Linked DNA regions of Homo sapiens: all the other regions are linked to region 1. The links are contacts of gene promoters, found by promoter capture Hi-C in blood cells and fetal thymus (Javierre and others, 2016). All regions are on one chromosome and are shown on one strand. Each heading gives the region's core, a stretch centred on a gene start or on the middle of the fragment in contact. The rest is flanking DNA. Distances are from core to core; before and after follow the strand shown. Region 1 holds the start of CNFN (cornifelin). Region 2 holds the start of GSK3A (glycogen synthase kinase 3 alpha). Region 3 has its middle 3.0 kb from the start of POU2F2-AS2. Region 4 has its middle 19 kb from the start of POU2F2-AS2.

Evidence for each region. The method cuts DNA at HindIII sites, captures the fragments that hold promoters and counts their contacts. A CHiCAGO score of 5 or more calls a contact.
Region 2: the fragment with the promoter of GSK3A here is called in contact with the fragment with the promoter of CNFN in region 1 in 2 of 17 cell types (naive B cells and total B cells); the score reaches 6.2 in naive B cells.
Region 3: a contact is called between a fragment that was not itself captured here and the fragment with the promoter of CNFN in region 1, in 8 of 17 cell types (neutrophils, naive CD4 T cells, fetal thymus and 5 more). The highest score is 9.7, in neutrophils.
Region 4: a fragment that was not itself captured here is called in contact with the fragment with the promoter of CNFN in region 1 in 5 of 17 cell types (neutrophils, naive CD4 T cells, naive B cells and 2 more); the score reaches 7.9 in neutrophils.

Annotation. Positions count from the first base shown.
Region 1 is chr19:42,387,906-42,393,191 of GRCh38, reverse strand. CNFN (cornifelin) reads left to right here and starts at 2,895. Exons shown (of 4, transcript NM_032488.4): 1 at 2,895-2,952; 2 at 4,153-4,266. The coding sequence starts at 4,155. The HindIII fragment of the contact is 9,287 bases long and covers 1-5,286 here.
Region 2 is chr19:42,239,637-42,244,832 of GRCh38, reverse strand. GSK3A (glycogen synthase kinase 3 alpha) reads left to right here and starts at 2,231. Exons shown (of 11, transcript NM_019884.3): 1 at 2,231-2,650; 2 at 4,691-4,878. The coding sequence starts at 2,368. RefSeq lists enhancers at 490-549, 152-945, 1,560-1,609, 946-1,740, 1,670-1,879 and silencers at 2,170-2,379, 2,410-2,689. The HindIII fragment of the contact is 12,371 bases long and covers 1-4,311 here.
Region 3 is chr19:42,146,955-42,152,190 of GRCh38, reverse strand. It overlaps a transcript of POU2F2 not described here. Among named protein-coding and RNA genes, the nearest start is that of POU2F2-AS2, 3.0 kb to the left of the region's middle. RefSeq lists enhancers at 1,658-2,158, 2,159-2,659. The HindIII fragment of the contact is 5,333 bases long and covers 1-4,400 here.
Region 4 is chr19:42,168,252-42,173,936 of GRCh38, reverse strand. It overlaps a transcript of POU2F2 not described here. Among named protein-coding and RNA genes, the nearest start is that of POU2F2-AS2, 19 kb to the right of the region's middle. The HindIII fragment of the contact is 1,654 bases long and covers 3,460-5,113 here.

The sequences.
Region 1 (5,286 bases), core at 1,646-4,145:
ACCCAGAGCTCCCCAAGTCCCTCCTGTTCTGCTCCCAGCCCCGCTGGGCTGGCCTTCAAGGAAACAGCAGGTTGAGGAAGGGAAGGGGGACCACGCCACTTGTCCGCTCTGCCGGACCGGTTCCACCAGGGCCACAGATGGCACAACCCACCTTGTGAAACCCAAAGTGATGACTGACCCACATTGGGCAACTGGACTGAGACCTGGTCTGGATGCCTGGGTTCTGGGGAGAAAGGGGCTGGGAGCCTGGACTCCTGTATTTCCAAAGGAGGAGGGGGTTGGGTGCCCCATTCCTTCTAAGGGGGAGGAGGAGGATTAGGACCTGGACTCGCAGATCCTAAGGAGGGAAGGCTGGGGCCTGGACTCCTAGGTTCTGGGAAAAGAGGGGGCTGGAGTCCTGAACTCCTCTGTCTTTGATGGTAGGGTTCCAGATTTAGCAAATAAAACTATAGGAAGCCCAATTTAATTTGAATTTTAGATAAATAACAAATACTTTTTTAGTATAAATATGTCCCAAATACTGCATGAAACATGCTAAAAAACCTGTTTGTTGCTTATCTGAATTTCAGATTTTACAGGACAGCCTGTATTTTATGTGGCAACCCTGTTTGAGGAGGATGTAGGCCAATGCCTGGTGACTGGGCCACCATCACTCCTCAGCCCCCCAGGAGCTCCTCCTCCTGCTCACGGCCCTCCTCACCCCCAAGCAGGCCACCTCACAGCTTCCCCAGTCTCTATTTCCTCACCTGCATGAATTGCTAGATCTAATTGGGGCCCCCAGGCTGTGTCAGGAGTGAGAGAGGAAACTTGAGGACAACTCAGAGTGTCATGCTGGGAGCCCTGGGGTCCTCGGAGATGACTGACCTTGAGTCACCTGCACCCTTAGTCTGGACAGCAGGGGGGATGGGGCCCTGTAGCTGCCTCCACAGGGCAGGTCTGGAGATGAACAGAGATGGGAAGCGAGATTCAGAAGAGATTTTGACATAGGAGACAGAGACCCCGGGATAAGGGCACAGAGACACAGAGCCTGGAAGGAGAGGGACCCAGAGATGGAGAGACAGAGATTTGGAAAGAGATTTGCAGAGATGAGGAAAGAAAGACAGATTCACAGCTGGAAAGGTGAAGATGCAGGGTGAGAGACGAAGATTCAGAGATGAGGAGACAGGGATGTTAGGACACAAGTGAGGAGATGTCCCCCAGACATCCAGGCTCTAGGACCAATGACGGACGTGCACCGGCAAGACAGTGAGCGCTGCCGGGAGTTCTGGGGACAGGAAGACCCAACCATCTGGGTGGTGCTGGGAGACCAAGGCTTGGGTCCTAATGTGTTGGAGGGAGGGAGGGAGGGAGGGGACACCTGGGATCCCAGCTAGCAGGGTGATCCACCTGCCATCACCCCATACCCGGCGGGGTGATGACACCACCTTCTCTGCAGGTGACACCCCAGTTTTCTAGTGCCTCCTACATTTTTGGGGTGACACCCGTGCTGAGAACCCCACCCAGCTCTAATGCTGCTTCCCTCACTGAGTCACCTCCCAACCCCGTCAGGCCTGTTGGGGGGAAACTTTGGCGATTCAGGCACCCAGACCCCCAGCTCCTTCCCTGCTCAGGAGCCCAGCAGTGTGGAATCCCAGGACCCCTACCCTACTGAGGGATGTGCAGCCTGGCCTCATGAGACGCAGGAGTCCAGGGCCCCAGCCCCTCCTCCCTCAGACCCAGGGGTCCAAGCCCCCACTCCTTTGCTCCATTAGGACCCAGGAGTCCCAGGTGACGTCCACGTCCTTCAGGAACTGCGGCTTTTCAGTTCCCAGCCTCCTCCCTTCCCAATTTGGAGCTGGGGTGAGGTGTGTTTATTTACTTTGGTTCCAACATGAGTCATTCCCCAAAACACACTGCCCCCCATGTGTCTCCTGGCTTGAATGGGGAGGACACTGTCCCCCTCTCCCAGGAAAGTGGGGATATCACTGAGAGAGATGAGCGAGACCCTGAAAGGGGAGTCCCACACAGCACTCTCTCCCACTCCACCCGGCCTTTTTCTCTCCCCACCCATCACCTCTCCCCATTTCCCTGCCCTCTAAGCCTGTTCAGTGATCCCCCCACCTGCCTCTCCACTTTTCCATCTCCGTCTCTCTTCTGTCTCCCATCTCCCCTTTTCTTTCCTTTTTTTTTTTTAAGACAGGGTCTTGCTCTGTCACTGAGGCCGGAGTGTAGTGGCGGGAACACGGCTCACTGCAGCCTCAAACTTCTGGACTCAAGCGATCCTCCTGCCTCAGCCTCTCAAGTAGCTGGGACTACAGGCACATGCCACCATGCCCGGCTAATTCTATTTGTATTTTTTGTAGAGATGGGGTATCCCTATGTTGCCCAGGCTGGTCTTCAACTCCTGGGCTCAAGCGATCCTCTCACCTCAGGCGATTACAGGGTTGGGATTACAGGCGAGAGCCACCATGCCTGGCCCATCTCCCCTCTTCTTGTTATTTCTTTTCACATTTTTGTGCCCCTCTGTTTCTTGGCACCTCTCCATCTCTCTACATCTTCCTGCGTCTCTCCATCTCTCTGAATCTCCTCTCTCTCCTTTCTGTCTAGAGGGACTTCCCTGCCTGCCTTTCTGACACTGTGTTTCTGTCTCTCCCTCTCTTTTGGTCTCTGCGCATTGACCCGGCTGTGGCCCCCCGCCCCCGCCAAACCTCCCACCCCCCGCCACCTTCTTTTCCCTGGGTCCTGGGAGCTGAGGCAGGAGGAGAAGTGGGGGGATGGGAGTGGAGAGGGAGGGCGGGAAATCCCAGTGTGGGGAGAGGGTCGATCAGACCGGCTTGGCTCCCTGGGCACCTCTGTCAGAGCCCCGCCCAGGGCTGCGTGGCCGCCCATATAAGTGGCTCTGGGCTGAGACGGAGAAGTCAGTGCCCGTGTCTCCACACGTCTGCCTCCATCACTGCCATCGCGATCCTGCAGGTAGGAACATCCCCTCCGCAGCCCTCTTCTTTGAGGTTGGGCGCCTCTGCTCTGTTCTCCCTCCTCCTCATCCCACTCATATCACTCTGTCTCCTTTCATATCGCTGATTGTCGGTCTCTCGGGACATCTCTGTCCTTCCCAATGCCCCCAAATCTGTCCTTCTTAACTGGGGTGTGCTGAGCTGAATTTAGAAGTCTTGGGGCCCAGCATCACCTCTATGAACCCCCTTGGCCTGGGCCGTCAGACGTGGGGCGTTCCTCCTCATGTCTCTGAGCCTCAGTGCTCATCTGTGAGATGGGCTTGCAGAGGAGTCAAAGTGCTGGGCACATGTGGGCATTACTGGTGACATCTCTACGGGCACCTGGCTCTGATCTTTCTCCCCTTGTCTCTGACTCTGTCCATCTCCATTTCTTGTTCTCCCTCAAGCTCTATCTCGGGTATGGGGAGGGTCCTCTGCAATCTGTCGGGCAGTTGGAAAGACATGGGCGAGTTTCTCGCCCCCGCCCTATCCATTCCCTATTCCATGTCTCTCCTGGTTGACAGGCTGACTTGGCCTCTTTCTCCCCAGCTCCCCTCCCCCTGAGAGCCCAGCCCCCAGTGCCCCAGTCCCTTGCCCCCACCTCCCCAGTATCCAGCGTCCCTTGGACAGACTCTGCCACTGTTGCCACAGCCACTTCTGCCGTCCCCAACGCCACCTCCTCAGGGCCAGCAAGATGCAGTTTGAGATGCACGACAACGTGAAAGGCAAAGGTGGGACCGCTGGGTGGACCAGCAACCCTCTCAGTACTGGAACCTGGCCGCCTCCCTCCCCTGGGCACCCTTGCTTCGAAGACAGACGGCGCCTGCTTCCACCCCAGAGGCCCCAGAAATGCTGCAACCCAGAACCCAGGCCCAGACGTGGAGGAGGAGGCGGCACCGCCAGGCCCCACCCAGATGTGGTCCCCACCCTTCCTCAGATGTGCAGGAGACCCCCACCCCCAGCCTAACCAGACGTGCAGGAGCCAGCAGCAACAGGGACAGACTGGGGTTGCCGGTGCCCAGATGTAGCAGAAGGGAAGGGGGAGGCACAGTGGTGTCCCTTCAGTGGGCGGCCTGGCGGCCCCGCCCAGACTGCCCGGCACAGGGAAGGGTGGCCGAAGTGCGGGGCCCAGGAGATGCTGCGAGGCTGCCAGCTGACCCCTACCCTCCCACCTCTGCAGCTATGTCCTACCCTGTGACCAGTCAGCCCCAGTGCGCCACCACCAGCTGCTACCAGACCCAGCTCAGTGACTGGCACACAGGTCTCACGGACTGCTGCAACGACATGCCTGTCTGTGAGTGCCTGCCTGCTCCCTCTCCAGGCCTGGTGGAAGATGGGTTTGGGGGGAATCAGGAGAGGGAAGCTCACCTCCAACCTCCTCCCACCGCTTGCTAACCCCACTCCCACCTCCCTTCCCTGGACTTGGAATTCCCACTCTAACAGTCACCCTTTCCTCAGACCCCCAACACTCCTTAGGATACTACCTCATGCCTTCCCACACTCAACTTATCAGGCCCTCAACCTCCCCTTTGCATGCTCAGCTTTCCTCACTGTGACCCCCAACTCCCTCTTCAAACCCTAGCTCCTGGCCCAGTGCAGTGGCTCATGCCTGTAATCCCAACACTTTGGGAGGCCAAGGCATGACAATCCCTTGAGGCCAGGAATTCAAGATCAGCCTGGGCAACATAATGAGATCCCCATCTCTACAAAAATAAAAATAAAAAATAGGTCGGGCGCAGTGGCTCACGCCTGTAATCCCAGGACTTTGGGAGGCCATGGCAGGTGGACCACAAGGTCAGGAGTTCAAGACCAGTCTGGCCAAGATGGTGAAACCCCGTCTCTACTAAAAATACAAAAAAAAAAACCGGGCGTGGTGGCGGGCGCCTGTAAACTCAGCTACTCGGGAGGCTGAGAAAGAGAATTGATTGAACCCGGGAGACAGAGGTTGCAGTGAGCCGAGATCACGCCACTGCACTCCAGTCTGGGCAACAGAGCGAGATTCCGTCTCAAAAATAAAAATAAAAAATAAAATTAGCCCGAGGTGGTGGCACACACCAGTAGTCCCAGCTACTCGGGAGGCCGAGGCGGGAGGATTGCTTGAGCCCAGGAGGTCGAGGCTACAGTGAGACATGTGATCACACCACTGCACTCCAGCCTGGATGACAGACCGAGACTTTAATTTCTTTTTCTTTTTTTTTCTTTCTTTCGTTTTTTTTTTTGTTTTGTTTTTTGTTTTTTTTGAGACGGAGTATTGCTCTGTCGCCCAGGCTGGAATGCAATGGCACAGTCTATGCTCACTGCAACCTCCGCTTCC
Region 2 (5,196 bases), core at 982-3,481, 150 kb after region 1:
GTTCCGCACTTTGCCTTCTGGGTAATGTAGTCTCAACAGGCTTTGGCGCTACCGACCCCCGCAGTTGTGTCCGCGGGGAATTGCAGTCAGGAACAAACTGAGTGGACAGGACTTTCTTCTGGTTTCAGAAAGGACAGGACAGTTAGTATAAGCACAAGCTCGGATTAACGTGAAGTCCAGAGACTCCATTTCCCACCATTCCAGGATGCGGGAGGGGCTGAGAACGCTTTCATTCTACTTCTAAGTATTTCCGGGGGAGGAAGAGACACATACAGACACAGGAACTCTGTTTCCCAGCGCCTTTTGGGGGCTACTCTCCTTCGGGTATTAATCGATAAATAGGACGACTCACTGAGTACACAAAACCTGAGGCAGCTGGCTTCCTTATTTTTGGCTTTCCGGGATCTTGTAATTTAGGAAGCGGAGGATGCAAAACACAAGAGTGGGAGGCCCGGTGCCGTGGCTCAAGCCTGAAATACCAGCACGTTGGAGGCTGAGGTAGAATCGCTTGAGCCCAGGAATTGGAGACCAGCCTGGGCAACATGGCGAAGCCCACCCCGCTACCCCCCACCACCCCAAAAAACAAACCAAACCAAATTAGCTGGGCGTGATGGTGCACGCCTGTAGTCCCACCTACATGGGAGGCTTAGGTGGGGGGATTGCTTGAGCCTGGGAGTTAGAGGCTGCAGTGACCTGTGATTGCGCCACTGCCCGCCAGCCTGGGCGGCAGAGCGAGACCCTGTCTCAAAACAAACCAAAAACTGAAAACTGAATGGTGGTTCAAGACAGGATTTTTTTTTTTTTGAGACGGAGTCTCACTCTTTTCGCCCAGACTGGAGTGCAGTGGCGCGATCTCGGCTCACTGCAACCTATGCCTCCCGGGTTCAAGCGATTCTCCTGCTTCAGCCTCCTGAGTAGCTGGTATTACAGGCGCCCGCCACCACACCCGGCTAATTTTTGTACTTTTAGTAGAGACGGGGGTTTCGCTATGTTGGCCAGGCTGGTCTCGAACTCCTGACCTCGGATGATCCGCCAGCCTCGGCCTCCCAAAGTGCTAGGATTACAGGCGTGAGCTACTGGCGCCCAGCCTGAGCCACAGCGCCAGGCCCAGAAATGACATTTCCGTCTTTTTAATGCTCCATTCAGCTTCCTGGTGCGAACCACATTGCTAGGAAAAGCTAGACTGTATCCGAAGACTAGTTAGTGTTCTGAGAAACCGCCGGGAACTTTGTTTCCCGAATCTTTGCAGAGTTGCGGTTAGAGAGGGGACATTTTTTCTTTCCTGATCTATGGTCACCTGGAACTTAAAGGTGCTTGGATCCATTTTCCAGCAGTCCTTGATCGACCTCGGCTCTTTCTTAAAGAAGGACCTGGGGGCGAGGAAGGAGGCGCTGAAACACTTTTAAGTCTCTCCAGGGAACTGCCGCAGTCTCTAACCTTTCGTTCACACGCCCCTGATGGTGGCCATTGGACTTCGCTTCCCGGCAAGCCTCCGCAGACTGGCCTCACAGAGGGTCAGGTCTGGACTATTCCCCAGCATGCTTGGAGCTCATGGGCGATCCCGCCCCCTCAGTCAATGGGGAGGATACGTCGAACTCCATTTCCCAGAACACACCAGGGCTCGCTGTGGCAACTGCACTGAGGCCTTGGTGCTGACTACACTTCCCGGCAGGGACTGCGGCCCAGCGTACCTGGAAAGAGGAGCGCGTAAACCTACTCCATTTCCTCGCCCATCTCCGGAACTGCAGTATCCACCTGGGGCTTAAAAACCACCTGAGACTCCATTTCCCGGCGTGCTTTAAAAATCGCTTTACACCTGCAATGCGGTGAGGGCGTGGCGACGACTCCATTTCCCGGCTTGCCTCACGGCCCGAGACCCGCAGGTTCACGCGGGCCGACTCAATTTCCCAGAGCGCACCGAGCTCTGGGAGGCATACACAGCTAATAGACTGAGTGAGTGGACTCCGTTTCCCAGCGTGCATCAGGCTCTCTGCTTCCTAAAGTGCTTCAGGGCTCCCCGTCGTACAGTCGGCTGACAGATTACCCTGGACTCCATTTCCCGACGTACAGCGTGACCCGTCATTCCCGCCCATCATTCCCGCGGTCTACTCTGAGGCTTTTGTGGACTTCATTTCCCGGCGTGCCACGCGGCTCTCTGTGCGGGCCGAGGGCGGTGACGGCGGCGCGGACGACAGCCGGACTGCATCTCCCGGCGTGCCCCGCGGCGGGCGCTGGGCCGGAGCCGGAGCCCAAGCCAGAGCGGCGCGGCCTGGAAGAGGCCAGGGCCCGGGGGAGGCGGCGGCAGCGGCGGCGGCTGGGGCAGCCCGGGCAGCCCGAGCCCCGCAGCCTGGGCCTGTGCTCGGCGCCATGAGCGGCGGCGGGCCTTCGGGAGGCGGCCCTGGGGGCTCGGGCAGGGCGCGGACTAGCTCGTTCGCGGAGCCCGGCGGCGGAGGCGGAGGAGGCGGCGGCGGCCCCGGAGGCTCGGCCTCCGGCCCAGGCGGCACCGGCGGCGGAAAGGCATCTGTCGGGGCCATGGGTGGGGGCGTCGGGGCCTCGAGCTCCGGGGGTGGACCCGGCGGCAGCGGCGGAGGAGGCAGCGGAGGCCCCGGCGCAGGCACTAGCTTCCCGCCGCCCGGGGTGAAGCTGGGCCGTGAGTACTAGTGGCGCCCGTGTAGGGTGGTGATTAGGGTTCCCAAAGCTCCTCAGACATCCATCAGATTCTTTCATGTGCTTAGATAGGAGCTCGAGGTCACTGTGCCTCCCCATACCGGGGATCCGAGCCCTCTTCCTCCCAGGAAAAGGAGTCTTGGGGTTACCATCTCTTGGAGATCAGAATTACTCGTGGATCAGAATTACTAACACTTAAAGAAACGGGTTACAAGTCTCTGTTCTTCCATTATTGAGGTCTTGGGTCCTTGAGCCTTAAGAACAGGTATCTGATGTTGCTATTCATTATAATATTGGATCAGAGGTCACAGTCGCTTGCAAATGGGGATCTAGGGTTATTGTCTCCTAAGAGAACAAGAATAAGACCAACCCCGAAAAAGAGGGATCTGCATTCCCTGTCCTTCAGAAGATGGGGATTTGGAGCGAATATCACTTAGAAGCAGGGCTTTGAGGTTACTGTGTTTTGTCCCCAAAGAATAGGGCCAGGCTTTCCAAACCTGGTACTCAGATCATCTTCCCTATTAAAACCAAGACCTGGCATCATTACCCACCCTAAATCTTGTTGAGCTGTACTGCCAATGGTGAGAATTAATAGTTACTGCCTTTTAGATATAAAGACATTGGGAGTCAGCATATCCTTCAAACCAAGTCCATAGTCCATGTTTTAAAATACATGGCTTGGTGTGTCTCCTTTAACAAAAATGGAATGGAGCAGGGTAGGTCACAGTTTCCTACAGAATATGGATCTAAGGTTATACTTTTTTAATAATTGTTCTAAGGTATGGTGTCATTGGCTCTGAAAAAAAAAAGTGATGTAGGGTTATCTCCCTCTGAAAGAACTTGTCACTGGCCCCTCAAAATGGATTTGGTGGCCGGGCGCGGTGGCTCACGCCTGTAATCCCAGCACTTTGGGAGGCTGAGGTGGGCGGATCACCTGCGGTCAGGAGTTCGAGACCAGCCTGGCCAACTGGTGGAACCCTGTCTCTACTAAAAATATAAAAAATTAGCTGGGCGTGGTGGCGGGCGCCTGTAATCCCAGCTTCTCGGGAGGCTGAGGCAGGAGAATCGCTTGAACCCAGCAGGCGGAGGTTGCAGTGAGTCGAGATCGTGCCACTGCACTCCAGCTGGGCAACGAGAGCGAAACTGTGTCTCAAAAAAAAAAACAAAAAAATGGATTTGGTTCATCAGTTACTCAAAGGGGTCACTATCCTCTAAGAATGGCACCAAGGTTTGCCACCATTTGAATAATGGGAATTGGGAATTATAGCTTTCCTTCAAAGGACTGAGGCTGGAATAGCTCCTTGATAATAAAGGTCAGGTTCATCATTATCATAATTTGGTGCTTGTCCATTAGGGACCACCCACATATAGTGAGGGGTCTGGGTCTCTGGACCACTCAGATGAAGAGGTCAGGTCAGTGTTTTTTTCTAACCTCAAAGTACCAAAAAGTGAGGGTCAGGGCACTGGCACTTATAGCAGGAGAGGACATTCATTTCTGTCACCAAGAACCAGTAAAGTTACCAGCTCTACAGGGGAGGACTTAGAGGTCAGTATCCTCTAGGCTGTGAGAGAGGTTAGTGCTTTCCTAAAGTAGGAGTACCTCAGGGTTACTGCTCCCTGAAGTGGAAGAGGCTCGGTCAAGCTTTCTCCAAATAGGAGGGGCCAGAGGGCAGTAGATCCAGAGTAGATGGAGTCAACATCTGATGTCTCCCAGTACCAAGATGGACCAGTGATCTGTTGCTTCCTAGAAGTAGAAATTTGGGGTTGCCAACCCTTGAAGCAGAGAGATTTAGGTATCAATATCCTCCTATGTGGAGGGGAGCAGGACTTAAGATTCCCAGAAAGGAAGAGGGGAAAAGTCACTGGGAAGGTCCCAGCATCCACCTTTCCTCAAAGAGGAGGAGGGGACAAAGAGGTCCCCAACGAGCTTCCTGCAGAGATTTCCCTTCCTCCCACAGCCCCAGGATAGGGTGATGCGCAGGCAGGATGGGTCAGTGGATCGTGTATCCCCTTTGTTCCCCAGGTGACAGCGGGAAGGTGACCACAGTCGTAGCCACTCTAGGCCAAGGCCCAGAGCGCTCCCAAGAAGTGGCTTACACGGACATCAAAGTGATTGGCAATGGCTCATTTGGGGTCGTGTACCAGGCACGGCTGGCAGAGACCAGGGAACTAGTCGCCATCAAGAAGGTTCTCCAGGACAAGAGGTTCAAGGTAGCTTGGGCGGGATGGGGACAGGGAGGTTTGGGGACTGGGTGTGACTGGTGGGAGAACCTGAGCCAGAGAGCTGGAGGCTTGGGTTTCAGAGCCATGGGCCAGAAGAGAAGGGGGAAAAGAGGAAATGAGACCTGTGAAAGATGGGAAATGTGGATCCCAGGAGAGCCCAGAGCTTTTACTGGGCATTTGCTCAATGTAAGTGCTTAATAAGCAAATTCTTGTTTAATTTACATAAAGATTCTCTGAGGGTAGGTACTGTGGTTATACCCATTCTAAGTGTAAGCTAAGTTTAAAAGCAGGGAAACAAACTCAGGT
Region 3 (5,236 bases), core at 485-2,984, 240 kb after region 1:
CCTGTGGGCATGGGGGCTCACAGCTGTTCATTGCCTCAGCTACCCGTTGCGCCCCACAGTCAGGCTGGGTGGATGGGAGGCCCTGACGCAGTGTCATGGGTGGATTGTGACCAACCAGAGTGTGAATCCTCCTCCTTCACTGTAGCCATGGGCAAAAGGGGAAAACTGTCTGAAGGCCTCTTCCCCAGCCACCGCTAGCCAGGTACTCAGGAGCACCCTGTCTATGTTGGTTTCCTGCCCTTTCTGACGGACGTTAAGTTTCTTCCCACAGCTGTGCCAGGCCAGTGCTCAAGGTCACATTTAGACTTTTTCTCTTCTGGCTTCCTCCCCTGCCCACTGGCTTAAGAGAGGAGAACGCTTAGCCTCACTTTTTCCTCAGCCTCCTCTTCCCTCTCCATAGAACCTTCTACCATCTGCCCCCACCAAACCTCCCCTGACCTGGGTGGGGGAGGGCAGGAGAGGAAGATGTCTTCCCTTAGTAGGAAGAGAAGTGAGGGGAGAGACTCTGGGACAGCGCTGAGAACCCTGGGCCTGGGCCGTCTCCCCTCTCTGGGCCTCAGTTTCCCCCCACCCCCATCCGACCTTGCCCAAGCTGGAAGGTCTGTATGGCTCTGGGATCCGTAGGGATTGGTACAGATGGGAGGCAGGGCCATCCAGAGGGTGAGAGCAGGGCCAGAGGGGTGCCTGTTGCCCCTCCCTCAGCCAGGACTGCCCTGGTCCCAGGTGCGTCCCCCCAGCCCCCAACTCCCCAGGGCTCCAGTTCTTTGTCTGTCCAGATCCTCCTCTCCTCCCAGCCCAGCCTCCGAGAGGTTGAGGAATCACCTTAGCCTTGACCCGAGGGGGAGGGCAGAGGAGGGGCAGGCGGCCCCCACCCCCGCCTTCTGCCCATGGCCATCCCCACAGCCCCTCTCCTCCCCGCTTCCCTGAGTACCAGGCCATCCCGCCAGTGTCAGGCCGATGCTCCCTTTGTTAGGAAGGGGGAGGGGAAAGAGACAAGCTGAGGGGACGTGGCCTGACCCCCGACCTCTCCCCCTCCCTCCTCCCATCTGGGTCCCCAGGGGCTCAGAGCCACCTTGACAGACAGTTCTGACCATCAGCCAAATGGCTCCGGGAGTGAGCAGGGGGCCAGGTAGGGGGGAGGGGAGGAAGGCCTGGCCAGGGCCCTCAGCCCACCATGGATATGTGTGTGTGGGTACTCTGAGGTTGGAAGGAGGCCCCTTGGAGGGGTGGCAGGGGGAGATGGGCATCCACAGAGGACAGGCTCTAGGAGGAGCCTGGTTGGATTGGGGGATACAGAAGCAAAGTGGGGCTCATCCCAGAGCCAGCAGTTCTGGGCACCCTGTGGATAGGGGCCTGGCCCAGGCAGATGCCCCCACCCCACCCCCACCCGGCCTGCGGCATTGGGAGTGCAGCGAGTTTTAAAAAAAATTAAAAGAATAAAAAAACAGGAGCAGGAGAAGCTGGGGGAAAAATATATAAGAAAAAATATAATAAGAACTAAGCGGTGGCTGCAGGAGAGAGAAAGGGCAGGAGGCAGGGAGGGGGGTGCAGGGGGGAGGGCGGCTCGGGCCCTGGTCGCTGCGAAGGCCGGCCGCCGGCCTCTGCGCTGAGCCCTCCGCGTCCCCCCTGCCGGCCCCCTCCAGCCCCGATCGATCCAGTTTCTTGGCAATAAAGCATTTTTATTGTCAGCTGCCCTGAATGCCAAATGTGAGCCTGGTCCTGCTCCCCTCCGAACCTGCTTCCTCACCACCCCTCCCCCAGCCCTCTCCACCCCCTCCCCTGCCATTCCCCCCACCGCAGGATCAGCATCGTCCATCACCAAGACCCCCTCCTCTTCCTCCTCATCCATGTCAGCCGCAGTGCCCGCACATCTTCAATAATCCACCAAGCCTTCCACCCCCCATCTAGGCCTCTGTGCTCCCTTCCCTAACCCCAAACCTGCAGAGGAGCAGAAAGGTGGCCATGGGATGGGTGGTCTTGGGGGGCACAGGGATGGGTAGGAGGAGGTACAGGAGGGTGTTGGGGTCACCAGGCAGGGAGACGATGGCCACAGGTTGAGGGAGGCATTGGCCAAAGTCAGGATAGCCAAAGCCTGTCCCTCAGCAGCCAGCAGGGGACAAGAACAGGTAGGGTGTCTGTGGGGACCAGGCACTGAAGAGGGGAGACAGACTGCAGCCTCTCTGCCCCTGGTTACAGCACTTCAGCTCTCAGTCCCCCAGGGCCTGTCTCTGCCCCTTCCACACTGAACTTGGCCCTTTTCTTTGGGAGGCAGCTGGGTGCAGGAAAAGAGAGAGGGCCGGGAGCTGGACACCTTCCCATGTGTCAGTCTCAGCTCTGCCCGGAGCAGCCCCTTCAGGGATGGGGACGACACCACACACCCTGCTGGACTGCTGGTGTGAGGGGCAGGGGAGAGGGTGTTGGGAAGCAATTTACAGGAGGCCCTTGTGGCCCCACCTCTGCTTGCTCTTCCCCCTCCCTCCCTCTTTCTTTTCTCTCCTGTTTTCTTTGTCTCTCTTTCTGCTGTTCTCTCTCTCTACCTCTTTATCTGCATCTTCCTGTCTCTGTCTCTCTATTTGACTCTGACTCTCTTTCCTTTATTGCTGCCTCTCCCTCCAGGGATTTAAAAACCCCCATACACTTCTCTGTTCTACCTTGATAGTCCCCAGTTACTCTTTCCTTACACCCCTCTTTTCTCTGCCCTGCTGTATGCTTTTCACTCTGTCTTTTTCTACCCTGCCTGCGCCCCACATCCCTTGTCTAGCCCCATCTCTCTTGGTTCATCTCCCCTCCCACAGCCATAGAAAGAAGTGGAGGCTCAGGTCCTTGGAACATCAGCAGAACACGCAGAAAAAGGGTCTTAAGCCCCTCTTCTTTCTCTTGGCAGTGTCAGTGTCTAGGGAAGTTCAAACAAGTCTACACTCGCAGAGATGGAGCTGGGAACTGAGGGGTGGGGCCCATCTGTCTGCCACAGACGCGCTGTGTGGCTTTGCTCAAGTCATGCTGGCCCTGAGCCTTGGTTTCCCCTGAAAAGCGAGCTACTCCAAGGGTGTTTACGGCCTCCCCTGTGGATTATGTTGCCTTGAAAGCCCAGGGTCCTCTGTCTCCTAGGGAGGGAGTTGAGGGCAGGATCTTCAGGCTGGGGAACATGGTCGCCCCTCCTCTCTCCTTCTCATGGTGGCTTGGGAAGGTGAAGCTGCAGACGTGGGCAGGTCTAGGGTGCCAAGATTTTTCCTCTCGGTCTGGGTGGGAGCGAGGCCCAACCAGGGTCATGCTTTAAGGAACATGGGGCGTGGATTCAAGACGCCTGGGTCCATGTCCATTGTCAGCTCCCCAGAGCAGGGGCCGTGACATCACTGGTGTCTGGTTCATTGCTTGCCACACAGACAGGATTCAAGGGACATTTGTGGAGCAAGTGAGGAAGAACCCGTGCAACAGTAGAGGCTGGGGTGGGGTGGGGTGGGGAGGAGCAAGTCCTGAGTGGGAGGCACAGCCGGAGGAGCAGAGGGATTCAGACATCTTTGGGTTGAATTGAGGGGAAGTTGACAGATGGGGGCATTTGGAGGATGAGGAGGATCTCAGGATGACCCTGGGTGTCCTTTCCAAGCCTCTCTCCTTCACCTAGGACCAGTCACCTCCACCCAACACCAACAAGGTCTACATTAGTGCAGCTTTCACAGTTCCCCACCTCTGGCCTCACAGCTACCTGGTTTGCGGAGGGGAGTGAGGATCTCTGTGTTAGAGAGATCCCTCTGATGTGGGAAGACGGCATTTGTGTTTCAAAGGCGTGTACAGACCCACGTATTTACCCACATGCTATATGCTTGCTTATGCCTGAAACAGTGCTTACTTTTCACTAGTTATGAATTTTTTGGCATTACCGTCAAACAAAAGTTTTCCAATTAGTACAAGGCCTTCCTAATAGAAGACAGAAAGGTCCCTCTGGGCCATGTGGGAAAGGCCAGGATGTGAGCACAAGAACCAGGTGTCAGCTGGGGCAGGGCTGGGTGGGTCTTGGGGTGGAGATGAGGTTGGCAGGATCAGCTGAGGAGTATGAGATTCAGGCCAAGACCAGGAAACCTGGAAAGAGGTGAGGGCTTTGGGGGCGAAGGATGAAGAGGGGGGCAAGAGATCAGGGGATGCTTCTCCTGCAATGACCATTTTGCCTGCCTCAGTGTGAGGGGTACAAATCCCGGCTCTTCCATGGACTCACCATGACACCCTGGGAAGGGGGCTTCTCCTGTCTGAGCCTTATTTCCTCCTCTGGGTCATAACTACTACCTCATAGGGGTCAGGGAAAGGGGAAATACAAAACACAATGTCACCTGATAAATGGCCATGCCCTTTCCTGTTGCTCTTCTCTCTGACTCCTGCCCATCCTCTAGGTTCCAGGTCTTTAAGCTTTTGTATTTGCAGAGGATTTTTTCCCAACGCACTGTCAATATTCATTGACTATTTGGATCCTCACCACTATCTTGTAAAGGAGGAATTATTATCTTGATTTTACAGAAGTGGAAACTGAGGCTTCGAAGACTTAAGTACTCTGCCTCAGGTGCTTGTCCCTATGCAGGATCCATTTAAGTCATTCATTCCACCTGTCTGTTGAGCACCCACTATGTGCCCAGCGTTTGTTGGGCACTAAAGATGTAGCAGGCAGCAGAACCAGCATGGTGTATTTTCATGGAGTTGACAACTAGAGAAGATGCAGATCTTTAAGTGTAAACATCAATCAAATACAAAATCAGGAACTGATAAGTCTATCCCAAAGAATAAACTAGAATAGGGAGCCAGGAGAGAGGGCAAGTTATTTAAGCCAAACCTTAAAAGACGAGTAGGATTTAATGGGGCAAAGAGCACAGGAACAGTGTTCCAGGCAGAGGGAATGGCACATGCGAAGGGCCTGGGGTTGCAAAGAGCATGGTTTAAAGAACAGAGAGGAGACAGCATGGCTTGGAGCAGGGTAGGCAAAGAGGTGAGTGATGGGGGAAGAGATGAGAGGTGTCAGCAGGGGTGAGATGACATAGGACTTTATAGGTTGGGTTAAGGTGATTGAGTTTTATTCCCAAATGCATGGGAAGCTCCTGGAGAATCTTAAGCAAGGGAGTGACACCACCTGGTTACGTTTTAGAAAGACCCCCTTTGGGGGCCAAGGGGAGACGAGACTATCTGAGACAGGCATGGAAGAAGGGACACCTTCGGGGAGGAGACCACTGAAGTCACTCAGGCCAGAGGTGGTGGT
Region 4 (5,685 bases), core at 3,037-5,536, 220 kb after region 1:
CAGGGCCATAGGCAGCATCTCCAGTTGCTGATAATGCGATTCCACATCTACTTCCTGATTTATGGGTAATGCTGGACAGAGGCCCATCCTTGCCGTTGGAGAGGTCCAGACCCCCATTTCCCTGAGGCTGTGCTGGCATGTGCTGGTGAACTCTGTGGCAGGTTGCAGTGTCATCTTTGGGGGTCTTGGTTGCGCTCACTTCCCTCTGCTAGTCTTTGCAGGGAAAATGGAAGGTGTCTGTGTCAGGGCTGTAGTAGGGAAAGAACTCAGCCACAGTGTGTGTGTATGCACACACCTATACCCATGCTGTGTGTGTAGAGGTTGTTAGCCTATACGTCCTAGACAGCATGCTGGCCAGGTGTTTTTTTTTTTTTTTTCTAGCAAGTCCGTCAGTGGCCACTCCAGGCCACCTCCATTCTGGTTCATATACACTCCCTTCTTGTATGCAGGGCCTATAAGCCAGAACTTCTTCCTCCACCAATGTGACAGCAAAGCAAGGGCCCCAACCTTAGCACCCCACTGGGTAGAGCTTTTCATAGCCCTGGTGCATAATCATAATGTGTAGAGGCATGACTTGCAACGAGGGGAGCAGGGACAGATGGCCACACCAGGGGCTACTTGGACATCGATGATGGCAAGGGAGAAGTTTCCATCTCTGGCATGTGCTGGTTAATTTCCAAGATATTTCAGGATGGAGATGGTTGAGAAACCCAAGTGTGAAGAGTTGTTAGAAGACAGAGTGGGTGTAAGGCCTCCTCAGATGGATGTCTATTCCTCCTTCTAAATATATTTCACTCATCATTTTTCCCTTGGGCTCAACACCTCTTGATCTAATAATAATAATGACCATGATGTCCCTTACACCCACCTCGCTCTCACAGCAGCCCCAGTGGTGTCCCTCTCACAGATGAGAATTCTGAGGCCCACATCATTTGCTCAGCCTGTCAGCAACCATGCTGGCGCTAGAACCAAGGTCCTCCTCATACCGAGCCTTGTCTGTCCTTATAGGTCTGTCCTATCCCATTAGCTGTCCCAGCGCCATTTCCTTTCACTGGCTCTGTCTCTTCCCCCACTTCCTCCCTGCCCCCTGAGATGTCCATCCACAGACCTGTCTCCCAGGACCTGTCGGGTGGATGGATGCCTTATGTGGTTCAGTGAGGGCTCTAAGGATGTGGGTCTCGCTTTATATCCTGAAGGGAGAGCCAGCAAATGAGCATGGTTGAGCTCGTTCCATCAGTGATGGTTTGGGGCTGGGCCTGTTCAAACACAGGGGTTTGCATGAGCTTATGGTCCCCCCTACCCCTTTTGGTGAGCCCTGTGTCACCTTTTCAGATCCACATGGTGGCCTTGGGAGGCAGGTGCATTTTCCCTCACTCGATCACCACCCCAACTTCATTAGATCCTCGGGACAGGCAGCTTTCCCAGCTCTGACGCATTCGGAAGGAGGCTGAAGGTGGTGGCTCCACATGCAAGGTCCCTGCATTCAATAGGTATTTATTGAGTGGTGTGAATCACTGAACAAATAAAGTCCAGTGAGTTCCCTGAGGTAATCGGGCAATGGTGGTATGATCACTCCTTAACCTGAAAATGATCGCTAGGCACTGACCATGGGCCAACAAAGGCCTAGACTCTGAAGCAGAACCAATCCCAGCCTTAGACAGGATTCTGGGCGCCTGGACTGTGAGCACAAAGGGAGTTTCCAGGTCATTAGGAATCTGGGGAATGAAGATGGTGTGGGTTTAGACAGGGAGGTGAGTCTTTAAGGATGCTCAGATACTGAGAAAAGCAGACTGGTGGCAGGGCATAAAGATGGCAGAGGAAAGTGAGGAGAAAGCAGCCCAGGTTGGAGGTGTAGTCTAAGAGTAGAGGTTGGCACAATGTTGCAAGGCCCTGTCTGTGGAGGCTCAGCTGCTGCTCTGAGAAGTTGGAACTTGATCTGGCTGGCAGCGGGGAGCTATTATGCCTGCAATCACACACACATACACATATACACATGCATCTCGTGACAACGTACTTTGGACAATACGGACTTGTCTATGAGCATGAGTGTGCTTGTGCACACACACACAGGGACCTTTATTCTGGCATCCATTCAGGGTCTCCCTCACAGAAACCAACAAGGTTGGGGGTTACTTTAGTCCACACTCTCAGGATCCTATAAAGTATAGGGCTGTGGCCCACACACGCAAGTATAAGAGCAGACTGGGGACCCTCCCCCACCCGGGGTGCAGACTCATGTGGCATTCACAGACTTAATCCGCCGCAGTGAGGCCAGGGAGGCAGCATCTGTCACTTTCACAAACACAAGCAACGGAGTCTGAGAGAGGCACATTCCACTTGCTCACAACTGCTTGAGAAACAGATGCCTGTACCGCACTGCCCCCCATGCCCAAAACAGACACGGCCCCTCATGGCCCCCCACGCCAAGCCCAGGCCAATACACCAAGTCACTCCTGCATTAAAGTGCACACACACACACACACACACACACACACACACACACACGAAGCGCAGCCCCTGACATTCCATCTCCCCATATATACAACCATATACTCAGGCACTCTGACTTTAAGCACAGCTGCTGACTTCCTATCCCCTTATTCACACACAGACACAGACACACACGCATACACACACACACTCATTTTGACTTAAAGCACAGCTATAGCCATCCCACCACCCATACACATATACCTACAAGCGGACTTCCACACATACTCAAACACACAGCCTCACAATCCACCAGAACTACTGTGGCCAGCGGTCATTGAAGAATGACAGCCTGAGCAGTGTGCTGAGGGGAGGGTCGCCCTGAGGCATGGGCCGAGGGTCATACAACAGGGTACATCGGAATCCCTTGAGGAAAAGGTCAGGCCGACTCCAAAAGGGTTCCATTGGTCCGGACGGTTCTGCCAGGTAAGGGAGATTCAACAAATGCAGGCCAGAGGCAGGAGCCGACTAATGGCCGAGGCCGCTGATGGCCGAGATGGCTGGTCAGCGAGGAGGGGAGGCTCGACAACTGATGTGACTCAGAGCTGGACAAATGATGGCGCATTTGGCTGAAGCTGGCTGGGGGCCCATGACCAGAGACCAGGCAGCCATTCTCGCCTCAGCGGGGAAAGGGCCAGATCCGGCTCTGTTGCAGCAGGGTGGGTTTCCCAGCCTGGATCCACCATGCATCCTGCCTGCCGTGTGTGTCTTGGGGTCTTTGTATGTGTGCATGTTTGTGTGCATGTGTGTTCATACATTTATCTGCAGTTGTCAGCATGTGCCTACCTTCGTAGAACTTTGTATCTTTGGGACTCCTGGTGTGCATCTATGTATGTGCCTTTGTGTATGTGTTTGCTTGTGCGTCTATGTGTACATGCCCACCCACAAAGTGTTCAGGGACCTTTCTTGTTGGACTCTGCATTTTTGGGTCCGTGTGTGTGTTTGCGTCTATTGAATGTGTAGAAAGCTTTCTTACTGTGAGACACTATGCACTCTTGAGCATTTTTTTTTTTTTTTTGGCGTTGGGTTGAAGGTTGGGGTGGGGAAGAAGCGATGGGTCTGGCTCTGCACTCTGAGCCTTCCATGTATCTGGTGGCCCATGAGGCCGTCTTTGTGCATCTGTTTGAGCCTCTGTCTAGGTGTCGGCGGGTGTGGGCTTGTGTGATTGCCTGTTTCAGAGTTTGAATATCTGTGTGTCCACAGCAGCATCTCCCTCGGAGCATGGATGTGGGTGGAGTGGGCCAGACCAGGATGAGGGGGGCATCTCCCTGAATCTCATCAGACCTCTGGAGGGGGGTCACACAACCCATGCTGAGCCTGGCTGGGACCCAGCAGCACAGCACAGTGCAGACCACCCCTCCTCCTCCTTTTCCCCCCATGACCTTTGAGCACAGCAGCCCCAAATACATATTTATCAGAGGGGCTGTGGGGACCAGCCCCTCCCCCACCACTCCCCTCAGGGCCCAGCCTGCCTGGCTGTGGAGAAATTAACCTTGTGACACAGGAGCTCGCTGACACCCCGGCCCCCTCCCCATCTGCAAGGCACATATGAGCAAGGGTGTGTGTGTGAGAGAGAGAGAGACAGAGAAAAGGTACTCATCCAGACTGGGAAGGCGCAGCAGCGAGGGGAAGAAAGACACACAGGTACACACGCACATGTGTTTATATCACCCCGACACACACACACACGCACACACACACGTGTGCGCGCACTCATTCGCCAAACTAGAGAGGCCACGTAAGTCTTGAACGGATGCACAAGGCAAATACTGAAATACATAAGCATGCAGACACATGCAATGATCCTGCAAGAGACATACACAGATTCTGAAACACATGGTAGCCATGTGCACCCTTGGGTCCTGGGAGCCAGATACCCATACTTTTGGTCAGAGATTCCCTAAGAAAATTCATAGATGCTAAACCCTGCAGATGCACATAGACGTTTGTATATTTGTCCACAGAGATGCCAAAATGGACACACCAGGTTTGGAAACAGGGGTAAACACATACTCAGACACAGGTATGAAAACCCAGATGTCTGTGCAGGCACATAGGTGCTGAGACCTCTCAGGGCAAGACAGACACCAAAACACCAGGGTGCTCCTCGTGTGGAGATTTGTTTTTCAATAGAAAATGTACGAATAGAAATACTAAAACATGGCAGCATCCCAGCCTATATGCCTGTGGGTGCACACAGGCCACATTCAGAAATCCCACAGGGAGGCCACACGTGGTGACCGAAAGGGCCATGCCCTGAGTTATAGCACACAAACACCCCCCAGGCTAGCCTCATCCCCCTAAAGCAAAACAAAATAGGTAGATGTTCAAGTGTGAAAATGTGTATAGAATTAATTAACTCATCACATAGGTACTGAGCCTCTATAGGAGTCAGGCCCTGTCTTAGAAGCTGAGGAAACAGTGGTTTACGAGACAGACCTGGGCCTTGCTCTCTAAGAGCTCCAAGCCAACAGGACTGGCACTGATCAGACCTCAGTGTATAGTTAGTTATAAATACACCTGGTAAGGAGAGGAAAAAGGGGCTACAGGAGGGCATCACGGAAGAACCTGGTTTAGATTGGTAGGCTAGGTGTAACATCTCTGAGGAAGTGACATTTAAGCTTGACATCAGGCACAACACACAGATTCTAAATGTGTACACATATCCCTCCTGAAACTCACAGAGCCCACACAGGCATAAATAATGCAGCACTCAGATGCCCCTACCCTTACCCCACTATGCCGCACTTTTCCCTCTAGAAAACTCCTCTGGCATGTCCCTAGGTGGGAAATGGGATCCTTTCACCTGGGGCCCAGATTCTGGGCTCTGGATGAGGTGCACAAAGCATTCTGGGGCAGTGCTGAGTGGGGAGCCCAGGAAGATTCACCAAGGAGGAGACATGGAGAGGGTGATAAGGTGCAGAGAAGAAGGCAGAAGACTGTCTAAATGGAGATGCTTGCCTGGGCAAGGGCATGGACATGTGAACAAGCCTAGACTGTTCCCAGCAATCATGTGAGGCCCAGGGTCACGGGACCTTCAGGAGGACTGAGAGGAGACTTTACATGACTGGGAAGCACTGTGAGGCTTGGGATTTATTCAGGGCGCACCACATAACCACAAAACAGTTTTGAGAGGGACTAGACAGAGCATGTGAGCCAGGTACCAAGTCTGATCTCTCTGAGCCTCGTGTGGGG